3 separate regions of the Homo sapiens genome follow, and regions 1 and 2 are each linked to region 3. Evidence: promoter capture Hi-C in 16 types of primary human blood cells and fetal thymus (Javierre and others, 2016). All regions are on one chromosome and are shown on one strand. Each heading gives the region's core, a stretch centred on a gene start or on the middle of the fragment in contact. The rest is flanking DNA. Distances are from core to core; before and after follow the strand shown. Region 1 overlaps SLC39A11 (solute carrier family 39 member 11). Region 2 overlaps SLC39A11 (solute carrier family 39 member 11). Region 3 holds the start of SSTR2 (somatostatin receptor 2).

Region 1 (3,342 bases), core at 503-3,002, 120 kb before region 3:
AAAAGAAAAAGAGAAAGAGAGAGAGAGAGAAAGAAAGGAGGGAGGAGGGAGGGAGGAGGGATGGAGGAGGGAGGGAGGAGGGAGGAGGGAGGGAGGGGAGGGGACGAGTTGAGGTTGAGACTACTGGCCTACCCAACCGTTAGGGACCCCATTTGTACTACTGCCCCTGGTTGTTGCTGAACTCTTCTGCTCCCTCACCTTGGCCTAAGCAGCTCAATCTGTGACAACACCAAAACGCCAAGACCCATCTCCCATGCCCCTTCTTCCGAACACCCTCAACTCTTTGCCCAAGTCCATATTTATTATGGGAAAATGCAGGACTTAGAATCAAGTCCGAGTTTGAATCTTGGCTCAGCTACTTACTGGTTAGGTAGCCCCAGTCAAATAACCTAAGCTCTCTTCTGCAGCTCAGTTTTGTCACCTGAAAATGGTACATTTCACAGGATTGTCCTAAGAATCCTGAGAGTCAATGCAAATACCACCCCAACCCGATTCCCAGCAGGAAATATGCAACGGGTCAGTGCTGTTTTGGATTCATCCCTCTCCCCGTATGCCTTCTGCAGACATCCTCTCTTCCTCCTCCCATCTTGCGCTATACCCCACTTCTAAGGCGGCTCTTTTCCATAACACTAGATTCATCACTCGTGTCCATGTCCCCCAGAACGTCGCACATGCCCAGGAGAGTGCTGTGCCTTAAGCATCTCTGTACCTGGCACCCCCATCAGAGTAGTCCTGGACAGAGCGACTATTCAACATTTGTTGCCTAATCGCATTCTCTGTCATCCTTGCTAATGAAGGGGAGGAACGAGGGTGGAGAAATGAGAACGCATGATCAGGAAGTGATTCAACACCCATTTTTTGGTCTAATGCCTAATTTTTACAGTAATTTTTAGCTTCCAAATTAAGTATTATACAGACTCATACTCAAATGCCTTCTGTCCTTTCACAAACATGGGGTGAGTAATTGTTTAAAATAATTGAGATTTTCATGGGTGTGGAAAAGGGCCAACGCAGAATTTTCGAAGCTTCACAGATAATCTACTGAAGTCTACTGATAGAATCACAGACTCACTTAGAGTCAAAGGGGACTTTAGGAGACCATTTAATCTAAAAACCTCACTTAACAGAAGAAAAGGCTGACACCAAAGAGATTCAGTGGCTTTCCCAAAGCCCCAGAGCAAGCTGGTCTGTCCCAAGTTGACTGTGCTACCCTCTACCCCTACTTGACAACTCAGAATCTTGTAAGAAATTCTGCGGGCTACAGAGTAAAGGCCAGGTTTAAGTTACCACCTCCCCCATTATCAGGGAAGGAATCCCAAAGCTGAAGTCCGAGATGAATCAGTGTCAGCAATAACTGAATGCAATCGATCCCATAGCATTCCCCGATATTCTGATAGAAACTACTCCAAGAAAACCCAGCACTAGAAAATTTGTGGCCACTAATGAACAGGGCTAATAATCCTGTTAAATACTTGCTTCACAAAGATAAATCAAACCTCACAAACTTAAACCCATTAATATCCCATGACTTCCTTAGAAGTAGGTAGAGAAACAAGCAATTTTGTAAGTCACACTAGAATCCCCTCCCAGCAGCACAGCTAAAGTTGGGGATTTCAAAACAAAACATACAGATGTTATACTTTTGGTCTAAGTCTCTGAATAAAAGGTACGCCTCCCTCTGCTGTAAATTACACTTTAAAATAGGAACAGTTTAAAAGCAGTTTGTATCCTGATTGGTATCTGAGAACAGAAGAAGGACATTGGTGGGGAAACTGGTGACATCCAAATAAAGTCTGGAGTTTAGGGAATAGTAACAAACAAATGTTAATTCTTAGCTTTGACAAATGTGTCATGATTATTTATGTAAGATGTTCACATTGGGGGAAACTGGATGAAGGGCACTATTCAGAAATTCCCTGTATTATTTTTGCAACATTTCTTAAAATCTAAAATACTTCCAAATAAAGAGCTTATTAAAAGTTAATGATTATAACATGCCCAGGCACGGTGGCTCATGCCTGAAATCCCAGCACTTTGGGAGGCTGAGGTGGGCAGATCACTTGAGGTCAAGAGTTTGAGACCAGCCTGGTCAATATGGTGAAACCCTGTTTCTACTAAAAATACAAAAATTAGCCAGGTGTGGTGATGCACTCCTGTAGTCCCAGCTGCTCGGAAGGCTGAGGTGGAAGAATCAGTCAAACCCAGGAGGCAGAGGTTGCAGTGAGACAAAATCACACCACTGTACTCCAGCCTGGGCAACAGAGTCAGACTCCATCTCAAAAAAAAAACAAAAAACAAAAAACAAAAAAAAAAAACAGTATTAACAGTATCACTTACTCAGTATATCCAATCAGAGAATAATTCCCCTCTAAATCTAATTTTCAAAGGTTTACTACACTAATGTGAAATTCCTAGTCCACTTTGGAATATCACAGAATGTACGTTGTAGGGCTTCTAATTAAACATGGCCAATGGAACACAAGCTTCCAAATTCTCACTGGAGTAAAGGTACAGGGATATGAAGGATCCAAAGGCCAAAGTCAGAAGGAAAGGAAGAGGACATGGCAGCCACATTTTGGAAGCTTGAAGAGAGAAGCAGGTAATCGCTGATGGATGCTCAAGAAGGCTGCCACCTGGGGCTGAAGGAAGAGACTAGAAGGAAGGTGCTTCATCCCACAAAGCCCCAGAATAGCCAGGGAGCCTTTGACAATGAGTGTGCAGATGGGCCTAAAAGAGACCTGATGGAAGCCTGGGTAAGAAGCAAGTAAACTCCAGATTCCTCCTGTACCCCAGGCAGCCAGGCAACTGTCCCACCAGACATTGCAGGACCCCCAGCCCAGCTAAGGGTGGGGATACCAGGCTGAAAACAGGAGAAAAAGTGATAGTTTATGTGCTGGAATGGGGGCACCCAGCATCTTCCCACATCTTCACCCTGATTTCACAATGAAAATCCAATGCGAGTAAAGAATCCTATGTACAAAAACTCAATTTTCAGAAATGTTTCTGCATGATAACCTTAACACCCACCTGGACTGTGCATTTGTGGAAGGCTTGTAAATCACAGCCTTAACAGCAGAAGGCTGAAAGGGACTGGAGAAAACATTTAAAATCACCAGATATTTACAAGCTCTTCTTCATAGTCCCTGAGAACAAAATCCCTGTTTCCCTCCTGTAGTTCTCAAAACCTAGAAAGGCTCATAATCCGATCTCTTTTCTCAAAATATCATGCAAAATGCCCCAGGGATCTGTACTTTATAATGCTATTAATTTCCCTCTGGTGTCAGAGGTACCAGCATAGAATGATTTAAAAAAAAAATCAACTTAACACCTACCCCACATTAG
Region 2 (3,340 bases), core at 392-2,891, 100 kb before region 3:
TAGTATACTAAATTATATGGGAAGTACTGTCAAATAATAAGTAATGCTGAACCTTCTTTGAATTTTACTCATATGTGTTCTAGAAAATTGTTTACAATTTTTAGAAATTTGATACGTGATCAGCCATAATTTCAGTTATTATGTTAAATGGTTGTATTCCACAGAAACAACTAAATTTCCTTGTCAATTGTGTCATTATTGAATGAAATTTCAACAGCTCTTTAACCATGGACATTTTAAGTCCTGTCACTCACAGACGGTTGTTTGCTCGGTACTTTCCTAAGCAACTATAAGCCTATATAGTTTTGTCTTCAAGGAGGCTCACGGAAAAGATTCTGACAAGTACAGGTTTGTGATTACTTTAAGATCGTATCATTAAACTGGGTAAGAATTCTCAGAACTCACCGAGCGTGGTGGCTCATGCCTGTAATCCCAGCACTTTGGGAGGCCAAGGCAGGCAGATCCCAAGGTCAGGAGTTCGAGACCAACCTGGCCAACATGGTGAAACCCCGTCTCTACTGAAAATACAAAAATTAGCCGGGAGTGGTAGCAGGTACCTGTAGTCCCAGCTACTCAGGAGACTGAGGCCAGAGAACCGTTTCAACCCAGAAGGCAGAGGTTGCAGTGAGCTGAGATTGCACCACTGCACTCCAGCTTGGGCAACAGGGCAAGACTCTGTCTCAAGGAAAAAAAAATTCTCAGAACTCGTATGAAGAAACTCACTGGTTCATAAAACTGTTAACCCACCATCAAAAGAACAAGAATTACTTAAATGCTAAGTCAGATTTTCATGCTAAGTCAGTTGATTGTGAAATTGTTAAGATATAGAAGCTGAATGAACTCCCTAAGATTTATCCAAGTCAAATCACCTATGATGACCTATTCATTGGACAGGGTTATGCATCTTAATTGGAGAAATAAAACTTGTACTTGAAAGGATGTAAATTCAACATTAAGCGTAGACTCATAGAGGGCTTAGACAACTACTTGGTCTTTTCTGAGTCCTTAAAGCTTCCATTATTAAAAGTTCTGTGCAGGCTGGGCAAGTGGCTCATGCCTACAATCTCAGCACTTTGGGAGGCCAAGGCGAGTGAATTGCTTCTGCTCAGGAGTTCAAGACTAGCCTAGGCAACATGGTGAAACCCCATCTCTACAAAAAAACACGAAAATTAGCCGGGTGTAGTGGCCCAAGCCTGTGGTCCCAGCTACTCAGGGGGCTAAGGTGGGAGGATCACTTGAGACCAAGAGGTCAATGCTGCAGTGACCTCGTGTGATCACGTCACTGCACTCCAGCCTGGGTGACAGACTGAAACCCTGCCTCAAAACAAAACAAAAAAAATCCTCTGTTCCATGACTCTTCATACCACAGACAAAATGAAACAAATTATGGAAAAATAATGGTGTGGCGACTGTTCTAGAATTACTAGGATGGTTTGTAACCAGTGAGTGCTTAGTTTGTCAAACTCATAATCCTGGAAAGACAATCAAAACTTCAGATGAGGCCGGGCGCAGTAGTTCATACCTGTAATCCCAGCACTTTGGGAGGCTTAGGCAGGCAGATCACATGAGCTCACAAGTTCGAGACCACCCTGGGCAACATAGCAAAACCCCATCTCTATAAAAAAAAATACAAAAATTGGGTGTAGTGATGCATGCCTGTAGTCCCAGCTACTTGGGAGGCAGAGGTAGGAGGATGGCTTCCACTTGGGAGGCAGAGGAGGTTACAGTGAGCTAAGATTGCACCACTGCACTCTAGCCTGGGTGATAGTGCCAGAGCTTGTCTCAAAAAAAAAAAAAAAAACTTTAGGTGATACACTTCTGCTACCTGATAGGCCATTTGAACATCTACAGAGGGATTTCATTAAATTGCCACCTTCAATAGGATATCAGTATGTCTTGCAACAGTTTGCATGTTTCCTGGTTGGATAGAAACTTTCCATGTAGAAAAGCTAATGCTATGACAGTAGCAAGGAAGTTATTACAAAATTTATTTCCTTTATGGCAGTGGTCTCCAACCTTTTTGGCACCAGGGACTGGTTTCGTGGAAGACAGTTTTTCCACGGATTGGGGGTGGGGGATGGTTTTGGGATGACACTGTTCCACCTCAAATCATCAGGCGTTAGAGTCTCATAAGGAGACCGTAACCTAGATCCCTTGCACGTGCAGTTCACCATAGGAGTTGTGCTCCTGTGAGAATCTAATTCTGCTGCTGATCTGACAGGAGGAGTTCAGGAGGTAATGAGAGCAATGGAGAGTGGCTGCAAATACAGATGAAGCTTTGCTCACTCACCCGCCACTCACCTCCTGCTGTGTGGCCCAGTTCCTAACAGGCCACAGACCAGTAAGTCTTGGGGGCCTGCTGGGGGTTGGGGGCCCCTGCTTGAGGAGACATCCCTGTCAAAATCTCTAGTGACACAGGAATCCATTTGGACAAATTATAAAAGAGTTAAAATGTTAGAAGCACAAGGTACTAGCATTGTCTCTATCACCCTCAGTCTTTTGGAAAGATAAAAATGACAAAAGGCATTTTTAAAAATGAATTTGACGAAGGTAACTGAATCAATTGGATTGACTTGGCCAAAGGTACTACCGTTAGCACTAATGGCAATCAGATCCATTCTCACTGGGATATACAGATTGACCCCTTATGAAATAATTACTGGAAGGCCTACGCTGCTAATAGAACCTCATGTATCTTTCACTCTTATAAACTCTAATATAATTAAATGCTGCAAGACTTTAACGAATTGTGTCAAAATGTATTTTCAGAGGGTAAAAGAAGCTTTTCAAGGCCAGGTGCAGTGGCGCGTGCCTGTAATCCCAGCTACTCTAAAGGCTGAGGCAGGAGAATCACTTGAACCCGGGAGGCAGAGGTTGCAATGAGCCGAGATCGTGTCACTGCACTCCAGCCTGGGTAACAGAGCAAGGCTCATCTCAAAAAAAAAATTAAAATTAAAATTAAAAATAAAACCTATGGCCACAAGATTATTGCAAGGGTCAGATGAGGTAACGGATGAGAAAGTGCTTCAAAAAGTATAAAGCAATAAACCAATGTCACATAATAATATTTGGGGCTCCTGAGCCCATAAGATGCAAGTGTTCGCTGCCATCAGCCCATGGATACTCTCCCCCACACAGAAATCTTCATGCATAATTACAAAGTGTTCAGCAAATTCACGTCTGTAATCTGTTTAAAGTTTATGCACAGGCAATGACCGTGTGTCCCTTCCTCCATCTTAAATACAATACTAATCTGGTTTCCCCTTGTTTATGCATTTAACAGGTATCTAATTTTTCCACACTCCTGGAGAACTAACTCATTTAGCTCCAGGGCTGTCTT
Region 3 (3,074 bases), core at 370-2,869:
ATTTTTTTTAATGAAACGTAAATCTGGTATTAACAGTTTGAGAACTTTTAGGAAAGGAATTTGAGGGCAGAGTGGGCACTTCCTGGCTCTTCCTTCTTTTCCTGGAAACCAGTCAGATTACTGGTTTTAAACTGGAGGTGGCAACAGGCATTGTAGCAACTGTGTGGCCAGAGGATGCCGAGTTCCCCTGAGCACAATTCCACGATGCCCTCCTGATATTACTATTACCTCTCTGCCTCTCCCTCTTCCCACTGACGGTGAGCAGACACAGCCCTCTTCCAGTGAGCTAGCCACCCCAGCCCTTCCACTTGCATACACATGTCTAAAAGAGATGCTGGCTCCCAGATTGACTCCTGGAACTTAAGGCAATTGCAGCTCAATTTCCATCTCACCCTGAGCTCCAGGATGCCAAGATTTAAGCCCTATCATGACCAACGTCTCAGAGAGAGATGGAAACTCCTGATCCCCATCTCACAGTGGGTACCCCAAGATACAGCTTGGCCCAGATAGAAGAGAGAGCTGGCTGCTGCTGTACCTGGTGGTTGCTTTTCCATGTCACTCATCTATCTCTAAGGCTCACCCCACCTGCCACACAGCTTCTGGACTTTTACTTTTCCCTGGTGAATTGGAAATCAGATAATAGGATGGACAAATCAAGGCAGCTCAGCTCACAGAGAAAGCTAGTTGGGGTTTGCTTTCTGTTTTCACATCCTCTAAAACTGTACTGAGGATGGTGTGTGTGTGTGTGTGTGTGTGTGTGTGTGTGTATACCTATGTACTTGGAGGAGGGTGAGGAAGGGGAGGCTGCAGGATTGATTATGACTTATTAAACTATTGGAAAAGAGGCTGAATCATCACAGTCAAAAATAAACAGCTGCAACTCCATGCGACTCCCACTTCTTGCCTGCTCCCCTTTGCTCCCTCACAGCATGTAGGAGAGACTGTGCTGGGTCAGACCAGCAGGTGCTGACTGACGTGGCTACAGCAAGGGGACCACCTGTATGGCCGCTGCACCTCCAAGCTGTGGGACGCAGGGACAGCTGGGACCAGTCGACGTCCACTGGCCCTCTGATGGCTCCTAGGACTGAATCTTGGACTCCAGGTGCGGGTTTACACTCCCTGCGCTCATTGGGAACTGCATGGAGAAGCGCTATCCCCTGAGCCCTTTTTCTCCCTACTCTTAGCCTGGCCCTGCGCCCTGCGCCCGGGGCTGGCCCACGGTAAACACAGCTTTGCTAACTTGTTTGGCTAAGGAAATCACAGAGGTCCCGGTATAAGTCTGGGTCACCCCGGCCGCCACTCCAGCTGCCTAGAATATATGGGTGGAAGGGAATCGACTCTGTGAAATCAGAGGGAAAATAGCGCTTGTCCTTGCCATGAGTCTTGAGGAGACCGAAAACGCTTAACCTTTTACGCCCCCGCAGGCGGGTCCCCTCTCTCCCCGCTCCCCGGCTGTCTGTAAGCTCTGCCTGCGGCCACCCGCAGGCGTTTCAGCCGGTCTCACCCCTGTCCTTCTGCAGGACCCGGGAGGAGGGGTTGGGGGGGCGGAGCGAAGCCGCTGTGACGTAGCGGGAGGGGGGCGTGGGGAAATGTGCCGAGGGGCCCGGGCTGGCTGGGCCAGTCCCAGCGGCGCAGCCACCCATGCGCGCGCGCTCGCAAGACCACCAGCGCCCAGAGCCCCAGTCTGAGGCTTGGCGCCGGGGGTCTGCGGGCGAGGGGAGCTCTCTACGTGCGAGGGGCTAGCGGGAGCCGGCACAAGAGGGTCGAGGAGCCAGGAACCCCAAACGTCCGGCGCCAGGCGCTAGCCAAGCTGCTGCGCGCCCCGGCGCCCAGCTGGCTCGGGGACAGCCGCTGGGTGTCGGAGACCGGAGCTAGCGGATTGCAGCGGAAAAGCAAAGGTGAGGGGTGTGTGTGTGTGTGTGTGTGTGTGTGTGTGTGTGTGTGTGATAAGAGAGATGGAGGGAGCGAGAAGCGCACTTGGGCACCTGTGTGCATCTGCGCTGATGGTGGTGTGCCCATCCGAGTGCCTGAGCTTAGGTCCCGGTGCGTGATTCTCCGCTCTTGTGCCTTTTGGGGTGATTGTAGTAGGAATGAACGACAACGGGTACCCTTGCCTGAGTAAGGGGGCTGTGGGTAGAGTGTGCTGGAACGGACGTGTCCTCGCAGCCTCATGCCCGTGTGCGTGGCGTGTGCCCTTTAGCCCGAGATTTCAGGTAGCTGCGACGGGTGACAACTTCTCTCCCAGCCCCCTACAAAAGAGACCTGGCGCGAGGGGAGCGAGGCCGTGAGATGCCAGCTGGGGCTCCTGCGGGAGCGCACCCGGAGATCCGAGCCTGCCAGAGGCAGGCGGCGGGCGCAGAGCGGAGAAAGAGGGGCTTCTCTCCCTAGACGCTGAACGATCTAGGATCCGTCCCCGTCCCCCACCTCGGGACAGAAAGGACAGTTTGTCTAGGTTTGGAGAGAAAAAACCACTGCATAGGCCGTGCCCAAAAGCCGCTGGCCAAGTCCCCCAAGCGACTGTCTTCTGCGCCCCGATGTCTCTGTCCTCAGCGCCCCCCCCCCACACCCGGCACCCCTGCTGTGCGTTTCGATACTGGGCGTGCTGGCGCCACAATCTCCGCTCTTGCCTCGTCTTCCTGGAAATGGCACAGAGTTCTTTGGGAAACCCTTGCTCTGAGGATCAGCGAGTTGGATGGCCAGGAGGAGGACTTTCTGTGCCAGCCGGGAGCAACCGGCTCCGCGGTCCTGACACTCGCCCCTCCATTTCTCAACCCCGTAGGCCAGCACCGCCCCGGCTTTTCCCAGGCGCTCACGCGCCGCGGTGGCCCTCAGGGGCTTTTGTCACCCTGCCAGTGGGGGCTCTCGCTCTAGCCGCACAGAGACCAAGCCGGGTTCTGCAGGCCCTGAGGGAGGCGGGGGGTGGGAAGTGAATGCGGGAAACATGATGGGGAGAGGAGAAACTGAAGCTGAGTAGGATTTAGGACCTCCCCTGATGTCGGGTCGCCATCCCAACACTCATTTCTTGGGCTGGTAATCACAGCCCCTATGTAAAAGGGGGGCGGGGGGGGCAGGTG

Evidence for each region. The method cuts DNA at HindIII sites, captures the fragments that hold promoters and counts their contacts. A CHiCAGO score of 5 or more calls a contact.
Region 1: a fragment that was not itself captured here is called in contact with the fragment with the promoter of SSTR2 in region 3 in 4 of 17 cell types (M1 macrophages, M0 macrophages, M2 macrophages and 1 more); the score reaches 7.7 in M1 macrophages.
Region 2: a fragment that was not itself captured here is called in contact with the fragment with the promoter of SSTR2 in region 3 in 4 of 17 cell types (M0 macrophages, M1 macrophages, monocytes and 1 more); the score reaches 7.3 in M0 macrophages.

The regions. Positions count from the first base shown.
Region 1 is chr17:73,038,707-73,042,048 of GRCh38, forward strand. The region is part of intron 3 of SLC39A11 (solute carrier family 39 member 11); the gene reads right to left. Among named protein-coding and RNA genes, the nearest start is that of SLC39A11, 52 kb to the right of the region's middle. The HindIII fragment of the contact is 1,458 bases long and covers 1,024-2,481 here.
Region 2 is chr17:73,060,678-73,064,017 of GRCh38, forward strand. All of the region lies in intron 3 of SLC39A11 (solute carrier family 39 member 11), which reads right to left. Among named protein-coding and RNA genes, the nearest start is that of SLC39A11, 30 kb to the right of the region's middle. The HindIII fragment of the contact is 1,265 bases long and covers 1,010-2,274 here.
Region 3 is chr17:73,163,391-73,166,464 of GRCh38, forward strand. SSTR2 (somatostatin receptor 2) reads left to right here and starts at 1,620. Exons shown (of 2, transcript NM_001050.3): 1 at 1,620-1,898. RefSeq lists an enhancer at 745-994 and a silencer at 1,535-1,874. The HindIII fragment of the contact is 15,303 bases long and covers 1-3,074 here.